2 separate regions of the Homo sapiens genome follow, and region 2 is linked to region 1. The links are contacts of gene promoters, found by promoter capture Hi-C in blood cells and fetal thymus (Javierre and others, 2016). All regions are on one chromosome and are shown on one strand. The core of a region is centred on a gene start or on the middle of the fragment in contact, and the rest is flanking DNA. Distances in the headings are between cores, read along the strand shown.

Region 1 (6,644 bases), core at 3,823-6,322:
TGGTGAAACCTCATCTCTACTAAAAAATACAAAAACTAGCTGGGTGTGGTGGCACGCGCCTATAATCCCAGCTACTTGGGAGGCTGAGGTGAGAGAATCGCTTGAATCCAGGAGGCGGAGCAGTGAGCGGAGATCATACCACTGCATTCCAGCCTGGGCAACAGAGTGAGACTCCATCTCAAAAATATATATACAGTTAGATAGAATGAATTATATACTTTAAATGGGTGAATTGTATGGCATATGAATTATATCTCTAAAAAGCTATTTTTAAAATTAATAAACAAAGAACTAGTTATATCCTTTAAACAACTTTATATAGAGGATTTAAAACCTACTGGCAAATTCTTTGACACTCCTCCCATTGAGAGGTCACCTCCTCTTGGAACTGGGTGGGCATTTGTGACTGCCTCAGCATTACTCCTGCCACATCCAAATTAAGTCTAATTAAGTGACTTAAGAATTCACTTAATAAGCTAGTTAGAAAAAAACCATGCAGCTTCTGCCAGTCTCTCTTAGGATGCTTGCCCTTGGAACCCTGCCATCACACTGTAAGGAAGCCAGGAATACATGGAGAGGCCCCAGCTGAGCTCCCAGCCCAAAGCCAGCATCAACTTGCCAGCCAGCTATGTGGTCAAGCCATCTTGAAAGCTGTCACGGTTGATGCCACATTGAGCAGAGTCAACCCTGCTTAACCTTATGCAAATTAAAGAGTTATGAACAAAATATCTGCCATTATTTTAAACCATTAAGTTTTAGGGTGGTTTGGTACACAGCAATGGGTAACTAGAATACTTTTCATACTTAAAAGAAGGCTAAAAACAGTATCTAGCCTCCTCCTACTTAGTGCAGACACTTCTTTCTAGCAGATTACCACCCTAACTGTCTGACAATTTTGACTAACATGGAGATCAGGTCCTCAACGAAGCCACCCCTTCCACTGATGACCAATCCTGGGAATTATGATCTGCCTTATGTTAAAACCAGTTCTGTCATGCCCAACCTCTGGTTTAAGTTCTTTCCTCAGAGGTGACCATTACTGTCTAAACCTCTTCTTCAGGACAGGCCTTTACCTTACTAAACAGTAGAGAAATCTTTAGCATTGTCCTACTATATAGCTGAGGAACCTGAAGTGCACAAATTGGCTGCTTTACCCAAAGTTACACAATAGATACTCGAATTTCTGGTATAAGATTTTTGTTTAGTATTATTTCTATTGAATATGAGACAAATATAACAGACACATGTGTTGTCCTTACTCAAATCACAATTTTCACACTTAAGCCATAATTGTTTAGAGTTAATCCTCATTTCTATTATCTAGGAGGAAAAGTATGGGCATGAATACTGGAAGATGAAAACTACTTTTCCGTATCACTCTTCCTCACCTCATATGTACTTAAATGTTTCCTGTTTTAACTCCAGAAAGCCAGTAAACTCTTTTAGGGCAGGGATAAGTCTTATAATTTTGAGACTTACTTGGTGTTTGAGTACATACATACTGAATAATTTGCCTACCTATGGGTGGCAGCATACAGATAAGGATAAAAACATTTCTTTTGAAATAATTTAAACACAAGTCTTACAATCCAAAAATATTTCTCATCACATCAGTGTAAGAATTGTAATCTTTTTTCTTTTTCAAAGTCAGTAGCAATAGAAAATGAGCTTCTTACACTGTTGACTACAGTATGTCAGTTGCTATGACAATGCTTAGTCCCCAGACATTCCTTCTAAATGAGACAATTTCTCCCAGCTTCAGTCCCCTAAGACTGACCCAATTACACAACTCAAACCCCAAAACCCAAGGGGTGCCCTTCAATAAAGATACTCTGGGCTGGGAGCGGTGGCTCACGCCTGTAATCCCAGCACTTTGGGAGGCTGAGGCAGGTGGATCACCTGAGGTCAGGAGTTCAGGACTAGCCTGGCCAACAAGGTGAAACCCTGTCTCTACTAAAAATATACAAAAATTAGCCAGGCGTGGTGGTGCACGCCTGTAATTCCAGCTACTCAGGAGGCTGAGGCTGGAGAATCGCTTGAACCCAGGAGGCAGAGGTTGCAGTGAGCCGAGATCGCGCCACTGCATTCCAGCCTGGGCGATGACAGAGCCAGACTCCATCTCAAAAAGAAAACATCAAAAAAAGATACTCTGATTACACAACCTAAGGAAAAATGTAAACACCCTTTTCTAAGCTGCAAGGAAATTTTTCAGGCAACCCATTTTGTTTTTACATGTAAAAGTCTTACAAGTTGAATGGTAATTGTCTGATATAACTTTAAAACTGTATATGCTATAATCCATAACCACATTCCAGAAGCCTAAACTTTTAATATAAATCATTTCTATTAATATGCATGCATCATATCTCATTTATGTTCTCTGGGCTGTATTTGCAATCTGTTCCTTTTAAGGTACAACTGAAATCTTCTAGGAGCAAGCAAGGCCATGCTCAGTAAACGTATCATTGGACTAATACAGAACATTTGCACACTAGCCCAAATTAACCTCACGGGAGGCAAGGAACTAGGAAAAAATATTTTATTTATTTATTTTTTTTTTTTGGAAACAGGGTCTCACTCTGTTGCCCAAGCTGGAGGGCAGTGGCCCGATCATGACTCATTGCAGCCTCTAAGTCCCAGGCTCAGGTGATCCTCCCACCTCAGCCTACTGAGTAGCTGGGACTACAGGTGTGCACCACCATGCCCCACTAATTTTTGTATTTTTAGTAGGAATGAGGTTTCGCCATATTGCCCAGGCTGGTCTGGAACTCCTGGGCTCAAGAGAGCCACCAGCCTTGGCCTCCCAAAGTCCTGGGATTACAGGCATGAGTCACCATGCCTGGCCCTAGAAAAAAATATTTTAAATTGTATAAAATTTAACAAGCTATCAAAATGAGGCAACTTAGAAAGAATTCCTAGTAATTCCAAAAGAAAAAAAAACTAAAAAGAAAAAGCTATGTTGGGAAATGTGGTATCTGCATTGTCTCAAAATGTAAGCTGGTAATTCTCTTCAACAGTCCAAAATATTTTAAAACTGGGGTTTTTTTCAGAATGCTCATTTGGTTAGAAATTCTCATTTTGATTGGCTGAGTTGATCAAGATTTTAACTTTTATTATACACACACTCAGAAGCATGAGCTTATTTTATATATCCAATAACATCTCTTACAACTCTACAACTACAGAACTTAGTAGTGTTCTCAAAAAAAAAGGTTCTCTGTAAGCTCAAAACAGTTTCTACAATTGAAAGTTTATTACACACTCATTTGTGGGGAAAAAGCTTAGATGTTGGTGTCCAATGTTATATTTCTCAATGCATTTACTTAGCCAATGGGCAAAAGAAGAAAAAAAATCACAGGACACACACACTTATCTAAAAGAAGGATTAACATGAGAAGTCCTAACTAACCTGAATATTATGTTAATAAACATTAACTGTAAAACAATTTATTGTGAAACGATGAGTCATAGGCAGCCAAGACTACTATAAATAAAAAAGGCATTTTATTTAGTTTAGATTTAGCCTGAGTTCAAAAGAAAAAACTAAAATAAAAATGAAATATGCAACTTTCTCTAAGGCAGACAATTCAAGCTAAAAGAACATTGTTAGAAAGCCAAAGGCTGAGGAAAACAATATCTTTTAAAAACCGCCCATCAGATAACTTTAAATGGCAGGTGCAATCTTCTTGTGAAATAGAAAGCATAGTACTTTCTTCCCCTACATTATAAAATGCTACTATCGAGTATGACTAACAGAGAATAAAGGTACCATGTGACCCAAGAAGGGTGTGTATGAGAAGTAGGGGCAGAAAGACGGGGCTGAGAAAAGCTGCAAAAAGCTTTCAATTTCCTAACTCTGACTCTTAGAGACCAGAGCTTACCTGAATACATTCTGCTGGGGATTGGAAATCATGCAGAAAGGTCTGTGATTCCAAAACGTTAATACATTTATTATAAAGTAATCTTGGGTAAAGATATGTTGCCTTAAGCAAAGAGTTAACTGTTCATAATACCCATTTGAAAAATCTCTCATTTTGTTTGGGAGAAATAATTGATAAGTCCATCAAAGTAGTTTAGTAAGCACAAATGGAGAACTATGTAGAAAGAGGAACTATTATGAAATGTATGACCGAGTGTGTTTTGTGTAAGACTAATGGAGGTTTTCAAAGGTTTTTCGTTTCTGGCTATATACAAAAATAAAAATAAGGGCGTTTTCATTCATTTAAACCAGCAGTAAAATACTGCCTGGTTTATGCCGCTTATTTTCACCTTACAGTCTTAATACACATTCCAAGACTGATGCGATATTCATTATTTCTTTCGGATAACTGGAAGAGGAGGGGGAGTAAAGCTGTACATTAAACAGTCCACTTGGTAATTGAGAAAATTCAGCAGTGAAATATATCATGAGGCACCAAAGAGATTTGCCGGGGAGGGCAGACAAAAGAGAAAACAGCCACAGAACATTAAGCCCCGGAAGAGATGAGAATCGGTCCCATATACGTAACTCGACGACTGGACAAAACCCCGCTTGACGCTGCCGGTGGGTGAAACGAGGTGATTTGAGATTCAGGGCGTTCTCGGCTCTTTCCCTCTCTCGAATCGATCATCTCCAACAGGAAGTCAGAGCAAGGCAGGGTTCGGAGTCAGAGAAAGCTCCCGGGGGAGTCTGTCTACCACGACAACAAACTCCTAAGGCTCCTTCCGGAGCTCCACAGCCCTCTGGGCGGCCTCTCTAGCGCTGTACTTCACGTCCCCGCTCCCCAAAAAAGTCGTGCACCCCGACTTCAGCTATCCGCGTTCAAGAGAGTGCGGCAGCAGTTGGGTCGGCCCCCTCAGCGGTCCCGGGCCGTAAGGGACCTGGCGGAGCGGCTCAGGGAGGCTGAGACGGCGGCTACACGACTTTCATTACCTTCTCGCGCTGATCCCAGCTGTACTGCTTTGGCCGCTCCTCCTCGTTCTCGGGCCGCGACTCCTTGTCAGCCTTCCGTCTCTTGGAGAAGAAGCAGCCCATGGTCCCAGCCCGCGGAGCTCGTTGGCCAGCTCACTAGCTCAGGCACTTCCTAGAGTGTGGCGTGAACCCTGGGAACCCCGGCCTCGCAGCTCTCCGGACAACGCCCCGCGGAACCGCCCAACGGTCCGCAGCCTTAGTTTGCCCGCCAGGCCCAGCACCCCTTCCCCTTTTTCGTCGCCCTGACGACCCAGCGCAGCCAATGAACGCTCAGCGCCTGTTGAGCCAATCAAAGCCTCTCGAGCAATCCTGCGCGGCCTATGAAGAGAGGCCGACATACCCACATACCAATCCACGCCTGGCTCCTGCGACAGCCCCTGGCGGCGGGGCGGGCCGGCTCTGGCGCAAGCACGGACAACCCCGCCCACAGCTGTGGCACGGACCGCCCTCGGCCCCGCCCCTCCTGGAACTTGGTGGGTTCTCTAGCTGGTGGGAGGCCAGGCTCGGTATCCGGGTTTTTTTTGCCCCTGATTCATAAATTTGCAAGTTCAAGGCGCGGGAGAGATCTCTAGTTGAACATTAGATTTATCTTATGATGAAAGTTGTGAGGGACAGAAATTCCCGCTGACACAAGAAGACCCTGAAATTTGTATTTCTAAATCCTCTTCTCCCCTCATCACCCTTCCTACCGCCCTCTCATCGCCTGGCCAGGGTCACCCCCTCAAGAATTGTACCCCATAACCTCCCAATCCTCTTCTGTGCTCTTTCTTTCTTTCTTTCTTTCTTTCTTTCTTTCTTTCTTTCTTTCTTTCTTTCTTTCTTTCTTTTTCTTTCACAGGGTCTCGCTATGTCACTCAGGCTGCAGTGGCACAATCATAACTCACTGCAACCTTGCAACTTTGCAACCTTGACTTCCTGGGCTCAAGCGATCCTCCTGCCTCAGCCTCCTTCCTGAGTAGCTGGAACTACAAGCAAGCACCACCATGCCCACCTATTTTTTTTTTTTTTTACTTTTGTAGAAATGGGGTCTTGCTATGTCGCCCAGGCTGGTCTTGAACTCCTGGGCCCAAGCGATCATCCTGCCTCAGCCTCTCAAGGTGCTGGGATTACAGGCAGGACCCACCGCACCCCAGGCTGCTTCTGTGTTTTCTTAAGACTTTCACATATGGCTCTAAAATTGCACAAGTACTTAGTAAAATAGTTAATTGTGTATTGTTTCCCTATTTGAACTGTGACTTTCTTGAGATCAAAAAGGTATATCTTTTTTTTTTTTTTTTTTTTTTGATGGAGTTTTTGCTCTTGTCGCCCAGGCTGGAGTGCAGCAGTGCCATCTCGGCTCACTGCAACCTCCGCCTCCCGGGTTCAAGTGATTATCCTGCCTCAGCCTCCAGAGTAGCTGGGACTGCAGGCGCCTGCCACTACGCCCGGCTAATTTTTGTATTTTTAGTAGAGACGGGGTTTCACCATGTTGGGCAGGCTGGTCTCGATCTCCTGACCTCAGGTGATCTGCCCGCCTCGGCCTCCCAAAGTGCTGGGATGACAGGCATGAGCCACCGCGCCTGGCCTAAAAGGTATGTCATAAAGGGCATGCAGGGCCGGGCGCGGTGGCTCACGGCTGTCATCCCAGCACTTTGGGAGGCCGAGGCGGTAGGATCATGAGGTCAGGAGATCGAGACCATCCTGCTCAACACAG
Region 2 (6,605 bases), core at 3,166-5,665, 650 kb before region 1:
AAGTTTAAGGTATTTTGTTACAGTAGCCAAAGGAAATGTATATGCAAGTTCAAGAGATCTATTGTACAACATGGTGACTATAGTTAATAACAATTGATATGGTTAAGCTTTGTGCCCCCACCTAAATCTCATCTTGAATTGTAATTCCCATAATCCCTATGTGTCAAGGGAGACACCAAGTGGAAGTAATTGAATCATGGGGGCAGTTTCCTCCATGCTGTTCTCATGATAGTGAGTGAGTTCTCACAAGAGCTGATGGTTTTATTATGGGTTCTTCCCCCTTCGCTCAGCACTTCTCCCTACCGCCTTGTGAGGAAGGTGCCTTGCTTCCCCTTCACCTTCTGCCATGATTGTAAGTTTCCTGAGGCCTCCCCAGCCATGCGGAACTGTGAGTCAATTAAACCTCTTTCCTTTATAAATTACCCAGTCTCAGGCAGTTCTTTATAGCAGTATGAAAACAGGCTAATATACAATGTATTGTATACATGAAAACTGCTGAAAATAGATTTTAAGGGCTCTCACCACAGATAAATATTTGAGGTTATGTATATGTTAATCAGCTTGATTTGGCCATTCTACAATGTATACATATTTCATAACATCATGTTGTGCTCCTGTGATATTATGATTTATAATAAGATATATATATATTTGGTCTTCATCACCTGATATGGTTTGGATCTGTGTCCCTGCCCAAATATCATGTTGAATTGTAATCCTCAGTATTGGAAGAGGGCCCTGGTGGAAGGTGACTGGATCATGGAGACAGTTTCTTATGAATGGCTTAGCACCATCCCCTTGGTGCTAAGTTCTCAAAAGATCTGGTTGTTTAAAAGTGTATGGAACCTCCACCCTCTCTCCCTCATGCGCTGGCCATGTAAGACATGCCTGCTTCCCCTTTGACTTCTGCCGTGGTTGTAAGTTTCCTGAGGCCTCCCCAGAAGCAGAAGCCGCTATGCTTCCTGTACAGCCTGTGGAACTGTGAGCCAATTAAACCTCTTTTCTTTATAAATCACCCAGTCTCAGGTATTTCTTTATAGCAGTACAAGAACAGTCTAATACATTCCCCATTTCCTGGCACAGAGTTCCTAAAAGCCTTGGAATCTCCAGAGTGATGAGTGACTTTTTACACTAATGAGATGATGATGACTGGTGGCCCCCAGATAGCCTCAGGATGGTGGATGGTCACCAGAAAGACCAAGACATGATTACAGGATTGAGACTTGCAGACTCACCATAAACTCTGGGGAGGGGAGAAGGGCAAAATGTTGAATTGATCACCAATGGCCAATTACATAACCAATCATGCCTACATAATGAAGTTTCCATAAAAGCCCAAAAGAACTGGCTTTGGATGAGCTTCCAGATAGTTGAACACAGTGAGATTCCTAGAGGGTGGCATGACTAGAGAGGGCATGGAAGCTCTGCACCCCTTCCCCCATTCCTCACTCTATGCATCTCTTCCATCTGCTATTCATCTGCATCCTTTGTAATACCCTTGATAATAAATAGGTAAATGTAAGTAATGTTTCCCTAAATTCTAGGAGCTGCTCTAGCAAATTAATTGAACCCAAAGAGGGGGTCATTGATTTATAGCTGGTTGGTCAGACGTGTAGGTCACAACCTGGGACTTACAATTGGCATCTGAAGTGGGGGCAGTCTTGTGGTATTGAGCCCTCTAATGGCAGTATTTTCAGGTAGCGTCAGAATTGAATTGGAGGACACCCAGGTGGTATCCACTGGAGAATCTAATGTCAGAAGTGTTATGTTGGCTGTGTTAGGGTAAGAGAAACACTGTTTCGGCCAGGCGTGGTGGCTCATGCCTGTAATCCCAGCACTTTGGGAGGCCGAGGTGGGCAGATCACCCGAGGTCAAGAGTTCAAGACTAGCCTGGCCAACATGGTAAAACCCCGTCTCTACAAAAATACAAAAATTAGCCGGGCATGATGGCGGGTGCCTGTAATCCCAGCTACTCAGGAGGCTGAGGCAGGAGAATCGCTTGAACCCGGGAGGTGGAGGTTGTAGTGAGCCAAGATCACGCCACTGCACTCCAGCCTGGGAGACAGAGCAAGACCCCATCTCAAAAAACAAAAAAAAAAAGAAAAGAAAGAAAGACTGTTTTTTCCCTCTACCTCTATTAATACCATAAATATATACAATTTTTCTTTGTCAATTAAATAATAATAAAAACAAAACAAAACAAACATGAGAGGCTGGGTGCAGTGGCGAATGCCTATAATCCCAGCAATTTCAAAGGCCGAGGTGGGTGGACTGCTTGAGCCCAGGAGTTTGAGACCAGCCTGGGCAACACAGTGAAACCCCATCTCTACAAAAAAAATACAAAAAATTAGCCAGCTGTGATGGCATGCACCCGTTGTCTCAGCTACTCAGGAAGCTGAGGTGGGAGTATCACTTGAGCCTGGGGAGGATGAGGCTGCAGTGAGCTATGATCGCACCACTGCACTCCAGCCTGGGCAACAGAGCAAGACCATCTCAGAAAAAAAACAAAACAAAAAAAATTACATTTACTATTGCCCTATCTTGCTTAATTTTTGTTTCACTCCCAGTAGTTTCTTAGTGTGGTCTGCTGTCCTAGAAGACAGCCCTGGTATGTCATCATACAGTAAAGAATTAACTTAGGAGGTCTGGGTTGTTTAAACCTTGTGCATTCCAAGGAAAGGTTTGGCCCTTGCCCCAGCTCCTGGGATATAACCTGTAAGTCAGGGGTCCCCAACTGCCAGTCCACAGACCAGTATGAGTCCAAGGCCTGTTAGGAACTGGGCCGCACAGCAGGAGGTGAGAAGCAGGCAAGGGAGCGATACTGCTTGAGCTCCACCTCCTGTCAGATCAGTGGCAGCATTAGATTCTCATAGGAGCACAAACTCTATTGTGAACTGCGCATGCAAGGGATCTAGGTTGCACACTCCTTATGAGAATCTAACGCCTGGTGATCTGAGATGGAACAGTTTCATCCCAAAACCATCCCCCTCCACCCCGCTCCATGTCCATGGAAAGATTGTCTTCCACAAAACTGGTCCCTGGTGCCAAAAAGGTTGGGGACCACTGCTCTAAACCCTTGGAATATACTGCCTGTTAAGAAATCTTTGTTTACTTGAGTGCATGAGCCATGCCAGATAGCTGTGATTCTTGGTGAGTCTTGGGCTGTGCAGTATCAGCGTGAACCTTGGAAGGACTGAGTAAGGTCAACCACACAGGTAGTTGGCCATGCCTGAAACTGACTCCAAATAAAAACCACAGACACCGAGGCTAAAGTGAGAGCCCATGGTTGGTAATATTTCATGTATGTTACCCCACATCTTGCTAGGAGAATTAAGCACTGGCCGTATGACTACACCAAGAAGGGCGAACCCAAAGCTTGATCCTTGTTTCCCCTGGACTCTGCCCTATGTGCCCTTTTCCATTGCTGAATTCTGAGTCCTTCATAGTCAATCAGTGAACCTGAGGTTGGTCCTGGGAACCCCCCAAGCACAGTCCGTCTTAAGAGTTCATAGAAGGCTGGGCATGGTGGCTCATGCCTGTAATCCTGGCATTTTGGGAAGTTGAGGCAGGAGGATCACTTGAGCTCAGGAGTTCAAGACCAGCCTGGGCAACATAGCTAGACTTTGTCTCCACTAAAAATTTAAGAAATGAGCTCAGTGTGATGGCATGTGCCTGTAGTCTCAGCTATTCGGGAGGCTGCGGGGAGAGGATTGCTTGAGCCTGGGAGGTTGAGGCTTAGGTGAGCCAAGATCATGGCACTGCACTCCGGCCATGATCCAAGAAAAGAAAAGAAAAGAAAGAAAGAAAAAAGAGTTCCTAGGAATTATTATAGTCTGCTCCAACCCCTTCCAACCTTCCTGCAGACCCCTCTCACTCGTTGCTGAATTTTGCAAAATTCCTCCCAGTTTCAGCTGCTGAATTCAAGTTGGTCTGCCATGCCCATTGGCTGTTTTGGTATTGTGTTCTCAGGTCTGGCAAATACTGCTTACTTCCCCCTGCTTTTTCCTATACAGATAATTGTACCATGAAGTTGTTGTGGCTGTTGGTGACTTGGGCTTACTCATGTGTATTTTGATATTCATGGATATTTCAGCTATCTATTGCTGTGTAAGTAAACCACACCAAAACTTAGTGGATTAATAACTATTTTATTGCTCACGAATCTGGGCATGGCTCAGTGGGGATGGCTCGTTTCTTCTTCTTCTTCTTTTTTTTAAGAGGTGGGATCTTGTTCTGTTGACCATTGGAGTACAGTAGTGCGATCATAGCTCACTGCAGCCTCAAAATCCTGGGCACAGCAATCCTCCCACCTCAGCCTCCTGAGTAGCTGGGACTACCAGCATGTGCCACTGTGCCTGACTAATATATTTTAGTAGAGATGAGGTCTTGCTTTGCTACCCAGGCTGGTCTCAAACTCCTTGCTTCACTGCTTCAGATGATCTGCCTGCTTCGGCCTACCAAAGTGCTGGGATTACAGGTGTGAACCACCACGCCCAGACTTGTTTCTTCTCTATATGATGCCTGGAGAAGCTGGAATGGTACTGGAGGATGCAAGATAATTTCATGATACGACTGAGACCTCAGTGCTAGCTGCCAGCTGGGGCCTCAGTTATGTACATGGCCTATATTTAAGAGTCTCATGCTCTACCAACTGAGCTAGCTGGGTGGCTGCCACAGCGCTGCATGACCTATTTTTAAAAAGTGTCTCATCTTCCAGGACCTCTGTCTTCAGAAGGACAGCACAGACCTCTTTACAGGGTATCTTGATTCCCCTCTCACTAAAGCAAAAGTTCAATGTCTTTTAAGGTTGGGCTCAGAAGTCCCAGAATGCCATTTCTACCATACCTTATTGGTCAAATGGAACACAAGGCCAGCCCAGACACAAAGGATGAAAAAATAGGCACCATGTCTTGATGGGAGGGTGGCAAACACATACAGGGTTGGAAATACAGCTGGCAGCCCTATCTGCAGAAAATCTGCCACACTGGGGACACTGTGTCTACTGGCCTCACCGTAAATATTACCCATGGGTTTTGATTTTGTCATCTGGTTGCTCTGTCTGTATGCTGGCATAACAAGAGAGTGAAAACTACGCTGCTGTCATCATGCTTCCAGCGTCTCTTCTAATTAAAAAAAAAAAAAACTCAGAAAAAAAAAGATCTGTTCTTTTCTAAGAACAGAAATTTTGGGTGAGGGCAGAATGAAGAGGTAAAAACATTCTAAATGGTTCATTCTCCTGAGAAATTAGGAGTAAAGGCCAGTAACACACCTGTGTGTGTGTGTGTGTGTGTGTGTGTGTGTGTGTGTGTGCGCCCATGTGTGTGCTTAATCTACCAATAGAGAAAATGTGAATTATGCTTATAAGGAATGGAAAGATAATCATCAGAAGAATTGATAAGCAGAGTAGAACTTCCAAATTACTAAGGGAGGGAGAAGGGGAATAAACAGAAGCTTGAGAGAGCCAACAAATGTAAGAAAATTGAAAAGGTGGAAACAATAACAAAATCGAAAAAAGGAAACAAAGTCCGATGGAACACACAAAAACAGGCATATCACTGATAAACTGAATGGATTGGGTTCTCCTATAAGAGAGGGACTGTAACATTGGGTTATAAAACAAAAGTTATGTGTTATTTACTAGAAGCACTTTTTTTTTTTTGAGATGGAGTTTTGTTCTTGTTGCCCGGGCTGGAGTGCAATGGCGTGATCTCGGCTCACTGCAACCTCCGCCTCCTGGGTTCAAGCAATTCTCCTGCCTCAGCCTCCCAAATAGCTGGGATTACAGGCATCCGCCACCATGCCCGGCTAATTTTGTATTTTTAGTAGAGACAGGGTTTCTCTATGTTGGTCAGGCTGGTCTCGAACTCCTGACCTCAGGTGATCCACCCACCTCGGCCTCCCAAAGTGCTGGGATTACAGGCATGAGCCACCATGCCCAGCCTAGAAGCACATTTAAAATAAAGAGACTGGGGCTGGGTGTGGTGGCTCATGCCTGTAATCCCAGCACTCTGGGAGGCCGAGGCAGGTGAATCACCTGAGGTCAGGAGTTCGAGACTAGCCTGGCCAACATGGTGAAACCCTGTCTCTACTAGAAATACAAAAATGAGCTGGGCATGGTAGCAGGCACCTGTAATCCCAGCTACTTGGGAGGCTGAGGCAGGAGAATCACTTGAACCCAGGAGGCGGAGGTTGTAGTGAGCTGAGATCACGCCACTGCACTCTAGCCTGGGCAATAGAGTGAGACTCAGTCTAAAAATAACAATAATAATAAAATAAAGAGACTGGAGGGGCAGGGTGGCTCACGCCTGTAATCCCAGGACTTTGAGAGGCCAAGATGGGAGGATCACTTGAAGCTGGGAGTTTGAGACCAGACTGAGACCTCATCTCTATAAAAATAAAAATTAGCCTGGCATGGTGATGTATATCTGTAGTCCCAGCTTCTCAGGAGGCTGAGGCACGAGAATCACTTGAACCCGGGAGGTGGAGGCTGCAGTGAGCTGAGATGTCACCACTGCACTCCAGCCTGGGTGACAGAGCGAGACTCTGTCTCAAAAAAAAAAAAAAGAAAACTACTTAAAATGGACAACACTATTTTCCAAAATTTG

What was found. Contacts are between HindIII fragments. The CHiCAGO score rates a contact against its expected background, and 5 or more counts as called.
Region 2: a contact is called between a fragment that was not itself captured here and the fragment with the promoter of RP2 in region 1, in 1 of 17 cell types (neutrophils). The highest score is 5.1, in neutrophils.

What each region holds. Positions count from the first base shown.
Region 1 is chrX:46,835,471-46,842,114 of GRCh38, reverse strand. It overlaps RP2 (RP2 activator of ARL3 GTPase), which reads right to left and starts at 5,072. Exons shown (of 5, transcript NM_006915.3): 1 at 4,913-5,072. The coding sequence starts at 5,014. RefSeq lists an enhancer at 4,941-5,080 and a silencer at 5,391-5,470. The HindIII fragment of the contact is 11,862 bases long and covers 3,842-6,644 here.
Region 2 is chrX:47,488,131-47,494,735 of GRCh38, reverse strand. No RefSeq gene overlaps it. Among named protein-coding and RNA genes, the nearest start is that of ZNF41, 8.2 kb to the right of the region's middle. The HindIII fragment of the contact is 2,076 bases long and covers 3,378-5,453 here.